Linked DNA regions of Homo sapiens: regions 1 and 3 are each linked to region 2. The links are contacts of gene promoters, found by promoter capture Hi-C in human tissues and cell types (Jung and others, 2019). All regions are on one chromosome and are shown on one strand. Each heading gives the region's core, a stretch centred on a gene start or on the middle of the fragment in contact. The rest is flanking DNA. Distances are from core to core; before and after follow the strand shown.

Region 1 (3,519 bases), core at 970-3,469, 640 kb after region 2:
TTCCTCTCCCTGTCACATAATATTTATTAAGCACTTACTAGGTATCAGGTATTATGCTATGAATTTACATGAACTCTCATGAATTATCTCATGTAATCCTTACCATAAATTATATGAGCTTTGTACAATTATACCCTCTCTTTTTTAGACAAGAAAACTGAAATGCCAAGAGGTCAAATAACTTGCCCAGGGCCCCTCAGCTAGTTGATGCAAGAACTAGGATATAAATTCACGGTTATCCCACTCCAGTGCTTTTCCTCTTAATCATCTTTTTTGTTGGATAGCTTGTTTTTGGTTTTTGTGTGTTATTGAGACCTGAGTAACAGTCTTACAGCCCCGGATCCTGAAAGAATCTGCCAGAACTGAGGAAGTTGTCATGCGTCTCTGTTTTGGAGTCGTGTGCTGCATGGCAGAAGTGAGCATGGCTAGCGTTCACCTATCTCCAGGATCATCTGCAGGAGGCCTGGGCTGTGGCGGGCGCTATGCAGGGAGCGCCCTGCATGGTTTTTCCCTCTCAGTCATGCTGATACTTCATCCATCTGCCTTGTTGGCTCTTAAACTGCAAACAGGAAATGAAACTGAAAAAAGCGGAAAACGGTGCTTTCAAGAAAAGGAAAAGCATCTTCCTTGAGGCACTGGCACTCTGAGAAGGGGAGTGATGACTAAGAGGTTTGTGAGACGCTGTTACCTGGTGATGAGGAGCCACAAAAACTAGATGCAGAATAGGAGTGCCGTGTGTGCCTGTGCATAGCTGGAGCCCAGCCTCTTGTCAGTGGATGGTGGAGTGTGAGTTGTCAGCTTCAAGCAGGATGTCAACTAAGCCTGCAGCACCCTGAGGGCAAACGGTTCAATAAAACACACACTTGATGAGAATGTTCAGCTTACAGATGTCACTAAGCTTCAGCCATGGTTGCTAAGAGTAAATAAATCACTGCTTGCAACTTTGGATCCCACAAACCTGATGCTCTCTTTTCTCACCCACGGGGGAGAAGAGATACAGGATAAACCCTGCTTCTTGGCAGTCAGTCTCAGCAATATCGTTTTGTGTTTTGAAACTGCTAGCAAATCATGACTGAGCCAGTCCACTGCTTTGAGCAGGTAGTGGTGGACTATTCATTTTGTGTTACCGACGAGAATCCCAAGAAGAGCAAAAATCCCGAGATGCAGGGAAGTAGGCAACATCAGAGTCCCAAGCTCGTCCTGCATTTATTCCTTCTGACTCAAGATGGCAGGAGTAGGGTGTGACAGTTGCTTGATCCTGGGAGGGGCATGATTGCATTTTCTCCTGACTTCAGTGGTCATTGTTCTTTAATGTTGTATCCTTGGGCAGCATGTGATCTGTCAGAGTCTGGGGGACCTGTTCTTTCCTGGTGAAGAAACATTGCTCAGAAATAGCAATGGTGTTTGCAAACAGCAGACACAGGTAGCAAGCAAAGGATGCTCTGCTATGTGTGTGTCTAGGTAATCCTCCCACATACATTTTATCTTAAAAATATGTATTAAATTATAAGACTCTTAGAAAATACTTGTCCCTATACTTGGGAAATTAAGAAATAATACAGGCATCACCTCACCCTCCTCACTTCCCAGTCATTATCATGTTTGCATGTGAATTTCTACTTAGGAAATTTCTTTACATCTGTGGTGTAAGTCCACAAACATTTGCTGAGCCCCTAACACGCACTAGCTACAGAGCTGGCTGGAGAAGGTTTGGGAAGTTTTGGGAGTGTCAATTTAACCAAATGGTAAGTAACTTAAATATGGTTTTTAAAAAGTAAAACAAATGGGGTTATACTATGCAGTAGAATTTTTAAAAGTGGATGAATCAAATTTTAATATAAACTGAGACTTCAAAAAGGGGCTACACAGCTTCTGTATGAAGAATGGACTAAATGGAGTAGAGGGAAGAATGTCTGCAGAGGCCCTTGCAGTTGGTTGAGGTAGACCCCATGGCAGATGAAAACCAAATGAGGTCAGTGAGTGAGAAGGAAGGAAACAGAGTGGAAGATAGAAGTTCTCATAAAGTGGAGCTGAGAGGACTTGTGATTGGTGCAGATGGTGCGAGAGGCAGAGGGAGGTGTTAATGTTATTGACTGCTTTCCTTGACTAATTTCCAGAAATTAGATGTGTCGACTCTGAAGCCACATCGCAGCACTTTGTCTTGTGCCATTGCCACATGATAATGCAAACAGCAGTAATCCTATGAGCTCACGTTGGTGCGTTCACACCACATGCTAGGCATCATGTGACCTCTTCCCACGCGTTCTCTTGTTTAATGTTTACATCCACCTATGAGGTAGGCTCTATTCTCATACTTCTTTCACAGATGGAAAAAACTTGAGGCTCAGAGAGGTTAGGCAACTTGCCCAGGATTAAACAGTTATTCATATGCCAGCACCCAGGTGACTAGAACACCAAGAAGGCATCTTCCAGGATGAAGGACCATACATAAATACAAACAGCAACTCCTCAGTTTTATTAGAATCCATTGACTATGAACCTTTCTTCATAATCTGCTTTGTTTTGGATGTTAGTAACATACCCCCACTTTACGTACCTTCTATAACATTTTAACAATTTTGTAAGAAGCCCTCTTAAGAGGTGTAAACCCCTGACCTCTTATATAGAGAATTTTGCACATAATTCAGCCTTTGGTTGAAACTTTATTTTGCTATCAGGAACACCCATAATGTAATTGGGAGAGACCTGGGGTGCTGAGGTGAGCAGGGTTCTTCGCTCCCAGGAGGCCAGCTCTTCCCTGTTTCTCTAGAGCCCACCTCACTCCACTGCGACCTCCATTCCCACAGCCTTCATTCCCACCTCATCACCCGCTCTGATGCTGCTTCCTTGTCTGCCGTCTGCTGAAGCTTCCCTCCGTCCTCCTGCTTTTATCTTCCTGTCTCCCCTTCCCAGCATTTCTCAGCTTTCACAGGGAACACGCTGTCTTGTACTGATGCTAGATCTATGATATGCTGACTGCCAGACACTGGGAGAGCTCTACTTCCACAGCCCTGCTGAATCCTCACCACAGACCTAGGGGTGTCTCATTCTGGTTCCAGCAGAGAGCAGCAGGCGCAGGAGGCAGCCATTTACCTCCGCAGGCATGCCCACTGCTCTTGAGTGTGGAGCTGGGATTCAAACCCACGTCTCCTTAATTTCAATCCTGCTTCCTTAGGTGCAGGGAGTGCTACCTGTAATAAGGAGGCCCAGGGAAGGAGATTGCTCTTGGCCTTCCATGTAACAAACCCAGACATAAGCTTTAGTCTGTGCTGCTTCTGTTGTTTTTATTATGGCAGTGACAAGCTCAAGGGCAATTCTTAGGGAGGCTGTTGAGTCCTGCCTGGGAGATGGTAAGGAGCACGGGCTCCAGAGGCAGATTGCTAAGGCCCAGCTTTTCACTTCCACACGCTTGCTGCGCGATGTGGGGATAATACTGGTACCTAGCTCATCATGCTGTAAGGAGTATATGCAAGTATATAAGGAGTATTTAAATCAGTCTTACAAGTAATGATGATAGTA
Region 2 (3,297 bases), core at 98-2,597:
CATTCTATCTGTCCCTAAGAATTAAACCCTGTTAGGTGAGCCAAACTTAAACACATTAAATTCTACAAATAGGCCAGGCACAGTGGCTCACGCCTGTAATCCCAGCACTTTGGGAGGCCAAGGCGGGCGGATCACCTGAGGTCGGGAGTTCGAGACCAGCCTGACCAACATGAGAAACCCCCGTCTCTATTAAAAATACAAAATTAGCCTGGCGTGGTGGGCCATGCTTGTAATCCCAGCTACTCGGGAGGCTGAGGGAGGAGAATAGCTTGAACCCAGGAGGCGGAGGTTGCGGTGAGCCGAGATCGCCCCATTGCACTCCAGCCTGGGCAACAAGAGCGAAACTCCGTCTCAAAAAAATAAACAAACAAATAAATTCTACAAATAGCCATTAGAATTATTAGGATAGAAAACGATGATGGGTACTAACAGATTCACTCAGAAGGAGTGGGCAGCTAATTCACATTATGTGTAGCTCTGGCTTGGAGAAGACACAGGGCTTGGAGGAGGCAAGACTGTTCAGCATGAATTAAAATTGATTTATGAGCTTGCTGTAGCACTTGGAATAGAAAAAAGAATCTTTTCAGCGCCTTTGACCCCTCTCTCAAATTACACCAGGGTGCAACTGAGGAACAACAGTGCCGACCACCCACTTTTCTCGACCCTTGGGGAAAATAACTTTTTTTTGGAAGGGAGAGTCAGTAGATGAGGCTGCATTTTCCACCAGGGAACACGAACTGCTGCGGGAAGATCCCAGCTTCTGGCTAAAGGAGCCGCAGGCCAGCTCGCCATCCAGTCCCCAGAGCCCGGGCTTTAGGTAAAGCGTGGAGATGCAAATCAGTTTCGCCGCCAAGGACCGGCCAGGCGCGTCTCCTCCCGGGCCTCGCAAGGAACAGGTCAGGGAGACGACTTCCAACTTTCTTGGCCGGACCCTAAACGTTCACCGCCCCTGCCCAGCCGCCCACTCCTGGGCAGCCAGCAAGTCTCCATTCACAAGCGGCTCCATGCTGCCCAGCACTGGCGCCCCTGAGGCGCGGAGCCCCGCAGCCAAATGACAGGACTTGGGGGCAAACAAGGACAAAAGTTCCCACCAGGTGGGCACTGCAGGAAGGAGGCCGACAACCCCGAGATTCTCCGAGTCCCGCGGCACGTGCGCTGCGACGCTGGCCGCTTCCCCCGCCGCTCGGGAAGGTCACGCCGCCCGCACACCGAGGCCCGCCCCGCGCCCCGCTCCCCGCTCCCTCTGCCTGGCGCGCTCCCCGCAGCTGCAGGCGCCAGACCGGGCTGCGCTCACCGCCGCGCCGGCGTGGCCGCGTCCAGCTCAGGCTCCGCCGCCCGCTCTCGGCTCCGGGTCGCCGGCTGGGGCGGCCACTTAACACCCACGTCGGCAACGGCCGGCCCTTCGCCCCTCCCTTCGCGCAGGCATCCCGGACTGCGGCCCCGCGAAGCTCAGGAGCGCCCCTGCGGCTGGCGGGCGGCCTGCCCAGGGCCGTGCCCGAGCCGAGACCGGGAGCCGCCACCGCCCACCGGCCCTGCCACCGCCCCCAGCACGGGAAGCGGAAGTGGGCGTGGGGCCGCGGCGCGCACAGCCAGCCCGCGACCCGGCGTGGTGCTGCCGCCGACCCTGGTGAAGGTGGAGAGCGGGGCCTGCGCCTCCGGAGACTTTCCCACCTCTGGGATCCCCGAGACCCTCTCTGAGGCCGGACCCTTGTTAGCCCGCTGGGCTGGGACTGGGGGCTGGGGGCTGGTAATGTCAGTGGTTGGGAGGACTTACTTTTTAGCTACTTTGACCTTGTTGGGAGGCTAAGGCCTTATTTATAAATTATATTTGAGTACAAAATTATACTCGGGATCCAAGGCCCTAATAGGAAATACAACTAAGTATGAAAATACAGGAATTAGCCGGGCATGGTGGCTCACGCCTGTAATCCCAGCACTGTGGGAGGCCGAGGTAGGCGGATCACCTGAGGTCAGGAGTCCAAGACCAGCCTGGCCAACATGGTGAAACCCCGTGTACTAAAATTACAAAAATTTATCCAGCGTGGTGGTGCGTGTCTGTAACCCCAGCTACTAGGGAGGCTGAGGCAGGAGAATCGCTTGAATCTGGGAGGTGAAGGTTGCAGTGAGCCAAGATTGCATCACTACACTCCAGCCTGGGCTACACAGCGAGACTCCGTTTCATAAAAACAAACAAACAACGACAAAAAAAAAAAGGTGTGGTGACACATGCCTCTATTCTTAGCTATTTGGGAGGCCAAGGCGGGAGGATCGCTTGAGGCCAGGAATTGGAGGCCGCAGTGAGCTATGATGGCACTGTTGCACTCCAGCCTGGATGACAGAGACCTCATCTCTCTCTCTCTCTCTCTCTCACCCACACACACACACACACACACACACACACACCCTCCACACAGTGTAATTTTATTTTACAACTTTAAGCCTTGTTTAGATGTGCTGTTGGATTATTATTTTTTTCTTTTTTTTTCTTTTTTTTTTTGAGACAGAGTCTCACTCTGTCACCCGAGCTGGAGTGCAATGGTGCAATCTCAGCTCACTGCAACCTCCCCCTCCTGGGTTCAAGCGATTCTCCTGCCTTAGCTTCCCAAGTAGCTGGGATTACAGGCATGCGCCACCACACCCAGCTAATTTTGTATTTTTTAGTAGAGACAGGGTTTCACCACCTTGGCCGGGCTGGTCTCGAACTCCTGACCTCAGGTGATCTGCCTGCCTCGGCCTCTCAAAGTGCTGGGATTACACGTGTGAGCCACCACGTCTGGATGTGCTATTGGATAATTACCTACGTTATTTAAGTGATTTAATTGGTGTTAGTGCTTAACATGAATGCACACTTGAGTAGACCTCCCAGGCTGTAGTAGATGCTATGATGGGATCAGAGTGCCTGGTACATGGACACTCATCAGAATCAGCACTTTAGAACTTGGGCTTCTGGACTGTAATCGAGTTACAAAAACAAGCCAGGGAGTTGGGATGACTTGTCCAAAGTGATGGGGAACATAACTAACTGAAAGCAGATCCAGCAGCTGAAACTACAGTTACAGCAGCTTAAAGGGGTTGGCAATGTCACCTGGTCCAATAGCTTTTGCAGCTTCAGAAAATGAGACCCAAAGGAACCCTGATTAAGGACAGACTTGGCTGGGTGTGGTGGCTCATGCCTGTAATCCCAACATGTTGGGAGGCTGAGGCAGGAGGATTGCTTGAGCCCAGGAGTTCGAGTTGAACCTGGGCAACACAGTGATGTAACTGCCCAATGGGTTCTTCTCGCCCGCTGCCTCAACT
Region 3 (3,303 bases), core at 607-3,106, 980 kb after region 2:
GCTCAAAGAGCGTCAAGAGGTAGACACTCTAATCATAAACATTAGGGTGCATGTTCTAAAAATGTTCTGAGTAGAATCTGAAAATCTAGCAGAAAGTCCTTTGTCAGTTTGATTTTACATGAAAATCAGGCTCTGAAGCATTCAAGGTTATACTCCTAATTTGTAGGAACTCTCAGAGAACACTATCTTACGCAGCTTAACTTTCAGCTGCCACCCTCATGGTGTTTTGCTTCTTATACCGATTTACTATTATCATACTTCTGTTTCTTTTTTTTTCTTCAGTATAATGTGGGAAAATGACTTTTGTGGACATTCCTACTGTGAATATTTGCATTTTTGAACATTATCTGAATGGCATCACGAATTCACACCATCTGAAATCACAGAGCCTTGCAGGTAGCAATCAGAATAATTTTACACAGATAGAAATTTTATGCTGAGCAGAAAACCATGGCAGTCACAGTCTGAAACACAAAAGAAAGCAGCCATAGAAGTGCAGTAAAAAGTAAACATTTGCCTAAAACAGTAAAAATAAAAAAGCTTCGGTTTAGAATCATATCATTCTATTGGAGTCATTTGTATTTTTTGCATGCAAATGTATGTTTTAAAATAAATGCATGAATATATGTATACACAGGTATAAATATACATCTACACACATGCATATGTATTTCTCCAGAAAATTTTTATTAGTCGATATTTATATTCTTATCATCAACAATAACTTTAAAATATATGTGTAATAGTGGGCATTATAGAAATGAGTGCCAAATGCCTAGTCTGAGGGGGTGTCAGAACGGAACAATCAACTCCAGATATGTGCTCACGTCAATCTGAAAAGGAACAAGCCCCTTTTCAGTGTATATTATATTTTCACACTAAAGCCTTGTTCTTTAAGGAATACATTTTTTTCTGTCATCCCAAAACCAAAAAAAGATAATATAAGTAATTGATTCTTAAATTACTGCTAAGTCTTCCATAATCAACATCAATACAAAATGAGGGAACTCTGCCCAAAAGAAAGAGAAAATATGTAAGGTGAAAAGAAAAGAAATAGCTGTTAAGGGAGTAATGTCCAATGGGACCTGATATTAAAGAGAAGGCCACAATGTCATAGAGGATAGTTTTTAATATAGAGTTTAAAATATCTGCATTCTACTTCAGCCCCATTTTTTTGAAGGGGGAAGAGTGCAGTTACTTCTTTAAGCCACAATTTCATCACCTGTAAAACAGGATAAGCAAATATATGCAAAAGTACAATGAAAACGTCAAAGAGCCGCACACATATAATTTAAGATTTAATAGTACAGTTGCTAAAAGGAAATTCTTCCAGCAGTGACAACCTCATGTTTAAAGGACGACAGAACATACCTGTGATGAAGAGTGGCCACTTGACTCCATTACTAAAACTATGGTCAGGTCCCCAAGACTTTGTGGCATGGAATCGTTTACCCTCCTCTTCCCTCATGATTCCGAATCAATCAATCATCAGCTAAGAAAAAAGAAAGCCACCCAAGCCAATGAGTTCTACCATCTGAGCAGCTGCTCCAGCTTGTATAAAGTACCATGCACACTGCCATGAACTGTGGAATGGGAACTATTGACATTATCTCATCTATGGACAAATAAAATGATGAGGATGGCAATTCACAATATTTCTAATACACTAACAATAGCTAATACTTATTGGCTGTTTGCCAAGTCAATAAATGTTATTTATCAAGAATGAGGCACTGGGTACGGTGGCTCACGCCTATAATCCAGCATTTTGGGAGGCCGAGGAGGGTGGATCACTTGAGGTCAGGAGTTTGAGACCAGCCTGACCAACATGGTGAAACCCCATCTCTACTAAAAACATGAAAATTAGCTGGGCATGGTGGCGGGCACCTGTAATCCCAGCTACTTGGAATGCTGAGGTGGGAGAATCACTTGAACCTGGGAGGCAGAGGTTGCAGTGAGCTGAGATCACTCCATTGCACTCCAGCCTGGGCAACAAGAGCAAAACTCCATCTCAAAAAAAAAAAAAAATTAAAAGAGGCTAAGTTCCTCACATTGATTTTCGAATTTATAAGAAAACATCCATTCCTTCCATCTTACATATGAAAAACTGACATGACAAAATTAAGTAACTTGCTAAAGGTCATACAGTGCATAAGCTCTAGATTATGCAGTGGCATGTTAATGTTAGATCTAGATTCAGGGTAAGAAAGCCAAGAGACAGAAGAACAAAAAAGGAGAGACTTTTGCAGTGACTACTACATTTAAGGTGTTAAAGACTTGTCAGTAAGAGATAGAAAGTATTGAGCATCGGTTTTTCTAACACTGTTGTTAGTTCTTTTTAACCCCCATGTTTTCTTAGATGAGCCAGATTGCAAAGTCTCTGACATTGGGGAACATGTCTGATACTTTGAATCTACTATGGGACCGGGCACACAAATAAATGTACCTGTCTGAATTAAGCAAGCTTTTTGCAAAGTTAAAATGGGATCTGGTGGTGAATGGGGTGTATTTACAGCTTGAGTCCCACTTACTTTGTGCAGTGGAGGAGTTTTACCCAAGAACAATCAGCGTGTTTTGGCAGCCCCAGGAGAGGCAGGCATGTCTCTTGAGAAAACAAAATTTAATTTTCTTTTTTTCAAGTGGTTCTACACAGATATTAGAGCCTGGGTGAAAAGTTAGCACAAACAACAACAACAAAGAAACCCTAAGAAAGGAGATGCATCACCCAGGATGCTGCAGGCCTTGATGAGCAGGTTTAAAGCAATGGTGACAATTGGAGCTAAAAATTGTCACAAGAATCTGTTGGAAAAGCCCAGGGTTCAAGAGTCACATGATATAAGCTGAGCCTCCCCACAAAGCAGCAGAGGAGAGACCCCTACGACAAACAGAGGTTCCACAAGATGCCCAGATGTGGGGCTGGAACAGGCAGTTGTGCAGCGTGGCTGCTCAGCAAAGTCCTAGGAGGCACAGAAAGCAAACAGCAAGGGGATGGGAAATGTGCAATTGTTGTATGATATTTTTGGTGACTTGAGCTAGTGTTTGCCAATGGGAAAGCATCAGGAAATCCAAAAGGATAAGTTTCACACGTGTCTGAATGGCTCAAACTCAAATACTCACTCAGATTGGAATCAGATCCCCAGGAGGTCACCTGGACCCTTTCTGCCACAAACACAGACTCATACAAGTAACAGGAATAATTTCTTATTTCTCCCAGTTAAATGATGGTGGAGATAAATTAGGTCAACATTTCTTTCTTACAGCTATAAACCATGTTTTTCAGAGATTCACAGTGGTGTCATATTA

What was found. Contacts are between HindIII fragments. The study calls those that stand out against the background at their distance.
Region 1: a contact is called between a fragment that was not itself captured here and the fragment with the promoter of SLC25A15 in region 2, in 2 of the 25 tissues and cell types used here (mesendoderm cells and thymus).
Region 3: a fragment that was not itself captured here is called in contact with the fragment with the promoter of SLC25A15 in region 2 in 2 of the 25 tissues and cell types used here (H1 embryonic stem cells and dorsolateral prefrontal cortex).

The regions. Positions count from the first base shown.
Region 1 is chr13:40,143,978-40,147,496 of GRCh38, reverse strand. The region is part of intron 1 of LOC124903162; the gene reads left to right. Among named protein-coding and RNA genes, the nearest start is that of LINC00332, 36 kb to the left of the region's middle. The HindIII fragment of the contact is 4,577 bases long and covers 1-3,519 here.
Region 2 is chr13:40,787,661-40,790,957 of GRCh38, reverse strand. SLC25A15 (solute carrier family 25 member 15) reads right to left here and starts at 1,347. Exons shown (of 7, transcript NM_014252.4): 1 at 1,295-1,347. RefSeq lists silencers at 1-65, 1,198-1,777. The HindIII fragment of the contact is 20,114 bases long and covers 1-3,297 here.
Region 3 is chr13:39,812,126-39,815,428 of GRCh38, reverse strand. No RefSeq gene overlaps it. Among named protein-coding and RNA genes, the nearest start is that of MIR4305, 150 kb to the right of the region's middle. The HindIII fragment of the contact is 3,252 bases long and covers 231-3,303 here.